Regions from separate parts of the Homo sapiens genome. Here region 2 is linked to region 1. Evidence: promoter capture Hi-C in 16 types of primary human blood cells and fetal thymus (Javierre and others, 2016). All regions are on one chromosome and are shown on one strand. The core of a region is centred on a gene start or on the middle of the fragment in contact, and the rest is flanking DNA. Distances in the headings are between cores, read along the strand shown. Region 1 holds the start of APPBP2 (amyloid beta precursor protein binding protein 2). Region 2 holds the start of LOC100996660 (a long non-coding RNA gene).

What was found. Contacts are between HindIII fragments. The CHiCAGO score rates a contact against its expected background, and 5 or more counts as called.
Region 2: a fragment that was not itself captured here is called in contact with the fragment with the promoter of APPBP2 in region 1 in 2 of 17 cell types (fetal thymus and erythroblasts); the score reaches 6.0 in fetal thymus.

Annotation. Positions count from the first base shown.
Region 1 is chr17:60,524,338-60,528,558 of GRCh38, reverse strand. APPBP2 (amyloid beta precursor protein binding protein 2) reads left to right here and starts at 2,317. Exons shown (of 13, transcript NM_006380.5): 1 at 2,317-2,765. The coding sequence starts at 2,628. RefSeq lists a silencer at 2,488-2,627 and enhancers at 2,708-2,977, 2,698-3,406. The HindIII fragment of the contact is 8,801 bases long and covers 1-2,954 here.
Region 2 is chr17:60,135,523-60,139,743 of GRCh38, reverse strand. LOC100996660 (a long non-coding RNA gene) reads left to right here and starts at 4,100. Exons shown (of 3, transcript NR_187530.1): 1 at 4,100-4,221. RefSeq lists enhancers at 155-688, 4,159-4,221. The HindIII fragment of the contact is 5,598 bases long and covers 1-4,221 here.

The sequences.
Region 1 (4,221 bases), core at 1,068-3,567:
GAATCATGGGGGTGGTTTCTCCCACGCTGTTCTTGTGGTAGTCTCATGAGATCTGATGGTTTTATAAGGAGAAACTCCTTTCGGTTGTCTCTTTTTGCCTGCTGCCATCCACATTAAGATGTGACTTGCTCCTCCTTGCCTTCCACCATGATTGTGAGGCCTCCTCAGCCATGTGGAACTGTAAACCCAATAAACCTCTTTCTTTTATAAATTGCCCAGTCTCAGCTATGTCTTTATTAGCAGTGTGTAAACGGACTAATACACTCAGCATCTAAGGTCCATAAAGCAATCAATATGTGTGTCTGACACACCTTTACCTGTTTACAGGAGCTTAATACGGGTCCTGATTTAGCCAAAATGTCCAAGAACATGTGCATTCAATGTTAGGGGATTCATGGATCCCTTTAGGTAGGATTGCTGGATAAAATACAGGTGTCCAGTTAAATGTGAGTTTCAGATGAACAACAAAGTTTTTTGTTGTTGTTGTTTTCTGAGACAGGGTCTCATTCTGCCACCCAGGCTGGAGTGCAGTGGCATGATCATGGCTCACTCAACATTCTGGGCTCAAGTAATCCTCCTGCCTCAGCCTCCTGAGTAGCTAGGACTACAGGTGCACACCACCACATGTGGCTATTTTTTTTTTGTAGAGATGGGGTCTTGCTATGTTGCCCAGGCTGGTCACAAATAAGTTTTTAGTATAAATATGTCCCCTGCAATATTTGCAGAGATAATAATTATTCTTTTATGTGGGGCAGGGATCCTGATCTTCAAAAGCGCCAGTGTCTAAGAAGTGATGAAGGATTTGCTGAATGAACTGATACACTTGAGTGGCTCCGAAGGCATGAGCAAAACTATTGCACAGAACATACTTACATTTCAAAACCATTTGTTGTTTATCTGACATTAAGATGTGACTGGGCACTTGTAATTTTTTTTTTCTTTTTTTTGAGACGGAGTCTCGCTCTGTTGCCCAGGCTGGAGTGCAGTGGCGCGATCCTGGCTCACTGCAAGCTCCGCCTCCCGGGTTCACGCCATTCTCCTGCCTCAGCCTCCCGAGTAGCTGGGACTACAGGCGCCCGCCACCACGGGCTAATTTTTTGTATTTTTAGTAAAGACGGGGTTTCACCGTGTTAGCCAGGATGGTCTCGATCTCCTGACCTCGTGATCCACCCGCCTCGGCCTCCCAAGTGCTGAGATTACAGGTGTGAGCCACCGCGCCCAGCCTTGTAGTTTTTTACTTGCTAAACTGGCAATCTGATCTTGAGGCCATCCACAGCTTTCCTAGGTTCACAGTATAGAGTAAGAATTTATATAGACTGAAGAAGATTAAGAGTGTTTATTTTTTGTGGAATTATTTAACCACTTAACACTGAAGTACCAGGTGAAGGGTAAATTGAAATAACTCTTTCCACTTCTTTTAGCTCTAAATATCAATCAGGACATTATTATTATGGCTGTTTTCTGGACTTACATCGTTATAGAGTGACTATGAGTTTGATAGTGTCACCAACAATTATGGCCAATAATTTCCATGGTAAATTCCTAGAACAGAAAGATGTTGCATCAAATTCTTGAAATCGCAGACTTAGGAAATTAAGTTACATAAACAGCAGATGTTCAGGCTGAGGAAGGAAAGAAGCTGAAACAAGTACTCCCAATTATTCAACAATCCCTTGAAGCCGCCACTGTAACTCTGGGAATTGAAATACCATTAAGTCCTATCACGGCCACCACTTAGCCTTTTTTCTCTTACTATTATTTGTAATTCCATAATCAAGCTAGTTTTCCTACGAAGTTCTGGGGCAGGAGTTTTCTTTTTTCGGAAATTTCATTTGGATAAAGAAACATGGTCAAAAAGTTACAACGGTGCAAATGGTTATACAAAGAAAAACAAGTCTCTCTTCTATCGTTACCCCTAGTTCCTGGACCGCGGGTTCTTAACTTGGGTTAGGAACTGCAGTCTAAGGGTTTCTAGAGTAATGTGAATTTTCTCAATGCATAATTTTCAATGTACAGATAATTTTGCTCGTTTGTGGGGAGAGGATCCAAACTTTTACCTGAGCCTCAAAAGGGTCCGTGATGCAGAGAACCTGCTGAAGTAACCGATGGCCCCGAGTGACTCGGAACAGGGGGCGCAGATATCCTGTAATAATTTGTCCCCGTGTGAAAAGTCTACCCCTATCCACTCCACTCCACTCCACTCCGGGGCCGCTTGGAAGGGACGCTCTCCGTGGGAGGCATCCAGCTCTTCCTAAGTTTTCCGCCTGCCGCATTCCTCCCCTCCGGCGCGCCGGCGTGCGCTTACGTCATGACGCCGCACACGCAGCCCCGCCCCTGCAGAGATCAGCGCTGGGACGGAACCCGGGTTCCTCTCGAACCGGGATTGTGACGCTTTTGGCCTGGCTGGCCGCTGTTTTCTGTCCCACTTTTTACTCGGGCCTGCGTCCGCTGCCGCCGTCCCTCAGTTTGCCCCCGGAGGAGGCAGGGCGGCCGTGCCTTCTGCCGTGCGCCCGCGTGGCTGCCACCGCCCCTCCGAATCCTCCGGGGCCGCAGAGGGGTTCGCTACGGAGGGAGGTGGGGGCCTTCGGGAGGAGGAGGCGGAGGAGGCGGAGGAGGAGGGAAGGAAGATGGCGGCCGTGGAACTAGAGTGGATCCCAGAGACTCTCTATAACACCGCCATCTCCGCTGTCGTGGACAACTACATCCGCTCCCGCCGAGACATCCGCTCCTTGCCCGAGAACATCCAGTTTGATGTTTACTACAAGGTATGCGCCGTGGGCCTCCTCTCTGCTCTCCTCCAGCAACCCCGGGGGCCGCACCCCCTTCCACGTCTGCGAACCCCCGCAGTTAACCCCTCACCCCTTCCGGCAGACTTGCCTCCCGAAACGTCTGGTGCGGTGTCTGCATTGCCAGTGGAGAAGCACCCCATCTCCCTATGCCCTGTCTCTTAAGCTTTGGGGCCTTGAAGTAATCTTGGGGAGTCTTGCTCCCTGTTGGTGTTCCCTTCTACACAGTGGCCCTCTTGGGTAGGCCTTTTGCGTGGACTTACTCTATCGCGCCCCTGTCCCACCTAGTCCTTTCCTTCTAGCCCGTATCTTCAGGATATTTTCCATCCTCTCCTTCCAATTAAGTGTCAGCATCAGCTGGACTTTTTTCCGTGCTCCTCCCCCCACCCATTCCTACTTTCTCATCTCGCCGCCTTCCTTCCCCGAGTGTTTTGGTGTTTTTGCTTCGTGTTCCTTCGTTTCTCCTTTCTTTTCCCAATTGGGAAGGAGTTAGGGATTATTGGAAATAATCTGTGTGTTTTATTTGCATATTCTTTAAAGCTTTGATTTTTTTGTGGGAGAGGAGGGGCTCTATACTTGAATTAGGGATTTTGTGAAAATGGGAGTGCTGATCAACTGTTTGAAGAGGACAGGGAGAGATCTTTACTGAAAGAAAAAAACACTTTAGATTATGTTCCTGTGTTTGAAAGTTGCAATCTTGCAGCATTCTTAAATCACTCCCCCTCAAAAATCTGAACAGCAAGTCTCCCAAGCCACTCTCCAAGGAGTTTCAAGGGTAAGTGTCCTTAGATGTGGACTATTTTTGCAGTGTTTTCAGAGTGTGGAGAACTTTATGGACTCAGAGCCTGCCCTTTTCTCTCCCCCACATTTGAATGTGAACACTGGATTTATTATTCAGTCTTCCTTGTCTTGAATCCGCGTCGATAACTCCTAGTGTCCAGTAGCCACCCATGCAAAATGTGACTAAAAGTAGAATGTAATTTATTTTTTAGACCTTAAATACTTCCTCTTGATCTGTAAGTTGGCTGGAACAGTGTAAACTGATATTTTAACAGATGTTTATGTTCTTACGTATGTACAGTGTTTTGTGGCAGTTGTTTTATTGGGAAGATTGCCTGCTTTCTCCACCCCTAGATTTTTTTTTTTTTTTTTTTTTTTTTTTCAGAATTAGCAGTTGATGGGCTGCGTTCTACTAAATCCAGCTGCTTTGCACCAATTCTAACAATTAAAGTGGGGTTTCCCCCCTAAATATTTGGAGAAGATTCATTTAGGTCATGCGTATTATTATTTTGGATTTCGAGAAAAAGCTCCCTTTTTTCCTAATCCCTTTGATACATTGATTTACTTTTGTGTATTCTAAGGAAATTTTGTTCATTTAAGATACATTCCTCCCCAGGAAGGACAAATTAGATTTGTCTTTCTCAGCCTGGGAAAC
Region 2 (4,221 bases), core at 768-3,267, 390 kb after region 1:
GAGGGGGCCGCGGGCGAAGGCTGGCGATTCATCCAGCAGCGCTCAGCAGAAGACCAAACCTTGGTCGCGCCCCTGGAGCCCTCTTTTCCTTGGAATTCCAGTGTAGACACCGTCGCGGGTGCTGGTTGCAAGGGACCCTCAGGTCCCCGCTGGCCCAGACTTGCAGCCTCGTCTAAAACCTCCCGCCCCAGGTTAAAAGGCAAAATAACGGCACCTGGAGGGGCAATGGAGCGCGGACGGGCTGTTCGAGGGCAGCGGGGCAGAACGGTCCCGCTGCGCAGCGCTATGACCGGGACGGAAGCCATGGACCGTTTCTGGGAAGCAGGTAAATGGAATTAAGTAGATTTAAGATTCCAAGGCGTTTTACACGCGGTCCCTTCTGAGCCTCTCAGCAGCCGAGGAAGGTAGGCCCAAGCATCAGCTGTCATCCACGAAGGCTCTCAGAGGGCGGCCGACGCCTCCACGTCACACAGCCGAGGGTCTCTGAAGCCGGGACTCGAATCCAGGGTTCTGCACACCAGATCTGCTGCTAGTCCTCGGCACCTGCTGCCTCGCGGGAGCCCAGTCGCCTGCAGGACAGGGAGTCCCTGCAGCTGCCCCGTTCGCTGTGCCTCCGGGGTCAGTCGTGGGCGCCCCAGTCCAAGCGCGGCCTCGGAACCGAATGGACAAAGACGACGGGGGCTGGAGACGCGTAGGGATGGCTGCGGCAATTACGGCCCTAGGAGGGGGAGCGCACCGCGCATGGGGACCGTGGACAGGCGGGGCCCCCTGATCCAGTCGGAATGAGGCGCGGGGCTCCCGGTTAGCGACTTGCCTATACACAACGCCCCATCTCCTGAGTTCGCTTTCAAGGCCCACCCACTGTTCCACTCATTCAGCGCTGGGCCATTCCACAGGCAGTTCCCCCGAGCCGGCCAGGTTCCACCTTCTGGCTGTTTCAGCTTCCTGAATTTCTTATCCCACCTGCCCGCAACAGCCTTCTGGACCAGCCTGGCGGGACACAAGGCGAGCCCCTGGTACTTAGGAATGTCCACTAGTCAGGGTCTGCACAGTTGCTGCAGCCAGCCAAACACTTTGTTGGGGACGAAGGAGAGGGATCTCTGGTGACTGGGGAGAGCCCAGGTCCAGCTTTTGGGGGCTAGGGAGCTACACTGTGGAGGGAGCCACACCCTGTCCTCTGGGTGACCAGTGAGGACTATACTCACTGTGCACCAACAATGTCAGATATTTCTTTCCTGGACGCCCAGGAAGTTCTCCTCAGACCAGAACTTAGTCCCCGCTTTCCAGCAGCTGCTCAAAATATATAGTCTCTTGGCCAGGCACGGTGGCTCATGTCTGTAATACCAGCATTTTTGGGAGGACAAGGCAGGAGGATGGCTTGGCCAGGAGTTCCAGACCAGCCTGAGCAAGACAGTGAGACCTTATCTCTACAGAAAAAAAAAAAAAAAAAAAAAAGCTAGGCCTGGTGGTGCATGCCTGTAGTCCTAGCTACTCAAGAAGCTGAGATAGGAGGATCATTTGAGCCCAGGGGTTTGCAGCTGTAGTGAGCTGTGTTCATGCCACTGTACTCCAGCCTGGGTGACAGAGGAAGACCCTGTCTCTATAAAAAATTATATATAATATTATATATTACATATAATCTTAGCAGGAGGGGTGGCTGAAAGCAGGCCTGGGTAGGTTTTGTAAAGAATGAGTTCACTGGACTCCTCTGCAAAACTCTACCTGTGGAACCCAGAGCCAAGGCCTTGCCACTCCCTCCCCACTGGGTAAGGCACAAGTGGCAAGTGGGCCAAGGATAAGTGGTAGGGGGACACGAGGGTGTCCAGCCTGTTAAAATGGTCACTGCAGATGTCATGCTGGCCTGGGAGCAGTAGAGCTTGGAAAACATCTGCTGCTGCCTGCCTGCCCTGATGGTCCCAGAGATAGGGTGAGGAGTAAATGATTCAGGGCAGGACCCCACAGCTGATCAGCTGATGGCTTGGTTGGGCACAGCAGATTCAATTTTTGCCTTTTTTTTTAAAATATACAGAGTCTTGCTCTGTTGCCCAGGATAGACTGCAGTGGTATGATCTCAGCTCACTGCAACCTCCACCTCCCGGGTTCAAGCAATTCTGTGCTTCAGCCTCCCGAGTAGCTGGGACTACAGGCTCGCACCACACGCCTGGCTAATTTTTTGTATTTTTAGTACAGATGGGGTTTTGCCATGTTGGCCAGGCTCGTCTCGAACTCCTGGCTTCACGTGATCCGCCTGCCTCGGCCTCCCAAAGTGCTGGGATTACAGGTGTGAGCCACCACGCCCAGTCTAGCAGATTCAATTTTTAACAATCTTCCTTCTCTGTCCCACCTTGGAGCCCTCCTGATTTTGTCTGTTTATCTGGTAGGGCCTGCTGTGCTCCTTGCGGATGTGACCAAAGCTCTGAAGCACAGGGTCCCCGCCTGATCTTCCCTTGCCTCTCAAATGTGGCACCCTCCTTCAGCTTGTATATCTGGGCTTCATGTTCTGAGGCAGGAAACTGGATATTGCTGAGGTACAGCCACTCAGCTGGGACCACAGAAGGCAGAAGAGGAGAGTTAGAAACAGGAGAGGACATAAAGTGGGCACCTTCTCATCAAGGACTGGCGCCTAGCCTGGGAGGCCTCCTTCCTGCTGAATATAATCACAATAACACAATAATAACAGTAGCTCCCAATTCTTGCCCATTTACTATATGTCTCTGCCAGGCATGCTGCAAGTGAGTTATATCCATCATTTCATTTAATCCTTTCAGCAATCTGTGAGGTATGTGCTGTGATGATGTTCATTTATACACATGGTGCTGGTAGAAGTTAAATTACCCAGACCACACTGCCAGAAACAGCTAGGATTCCGGCACAGGCCTTCTGACTTCAGATGCCTCTCAGATGCTTTCCTGGCCTTGCAGGGGTTTTTCTCTGTGGTGCTTCAATGCCCCATGGAGCACGACCTCTCTGATGACCTCAAGACAAAACTCTGCAAAAGAACCCCAGCAGGGTATCAGGCTGGAGGAGTGTGTGTCGGGGGGGGGGGGGGGGCGGGTGTGCATGTGTAGAGGGTGATTAGGTGCATTCTGGATAAATCAGAGTGCCAAGAGGGACTCCCCCAAACTTCCAAGGTCCTTTCAGGGTTGGACAGCCAGGAGAAGGTGGCTTCCTCAAGAAAAGAGGTACTGCTGGAGCCTGTCCGCCCTGGCTCCTTTCAGATCTGTGGGTAAAAGGCAGCCAGTGGCTGAGCTGGGAGTTCAAGAGGAGCACAGGAGCATGCAGGCCTACAAGTCTGTCTCCTTCCTGTCTGCTGATGAGAGCAGCTTGATGAGAGTACAGCTCCTCCCTGGGGATCTCAGAGTCTGATGGAAGTGACATAGTTTATAACTAGGGGCACAAGGACCATGCCTGTTTCTCATAGGGGACCCAGCACCAGGGCAGTGCCAGATACACAACGGGAGCACAATACATATTTGTGGATGGACAATGCTCATTTTTATTTTTCTTATGCCTCAGTTTCCCCGGCGATGGTGTCCTGGACTGAAGAGACTGACTGGAGTGCATGTTACTGCCGACAAAGTTTCAGAACACCGGCCAGCGCAAGACCACCGACATCAGACTGAGATACAACGGCAGCGATCCTGGATTTGCAGGGCCAGGATAAACAAGGGACTGTAGAGACCATTTTGTCCCATTCATTAATTTTTAGGCAGAACACAGATCTAGAGAGAATAGATGACTTGCCCCAAGCTACCCCGCGAAGGAGGAGGAGGGCCACGGATAAATAGTGTGCTTCGAGAATCTTAACTCTTCGGGGTCAACCTCTCCTTCTACGCCAAGGAAACAGGATCTTCCTGCAACCCCCCGAGACAACCACCGAACAGTCACCCAACTTAGCACTAGGGCCCAGACGTTCCGTCGATCGAATGTACCACGCTCGATTTCTAGGTCTTTAGCACAACGCAGGATAAGTCGATTGGTCGTCCCTGCCGGTCGCTGCTGAGCGCTGATTGGCTCCGGCTTGGGAAGCGGCAGAAAAGGCCGGCGTGTGGGGCGGGCCTGGGGAAGGGACTCCCGCGGCCCTAAGGTGCTGGCGGGCGTTTGGCGTTGCAGCTGTGTGGGCGCTGGTGCGTGCGAGTAGCGCTCGAAGAAACCCAAAGGCGTCGTGGGGCTGCCGTGTGCCCCAGAGAGCACTGCAGGCCGGGTAGGGGCTAAGGCTCC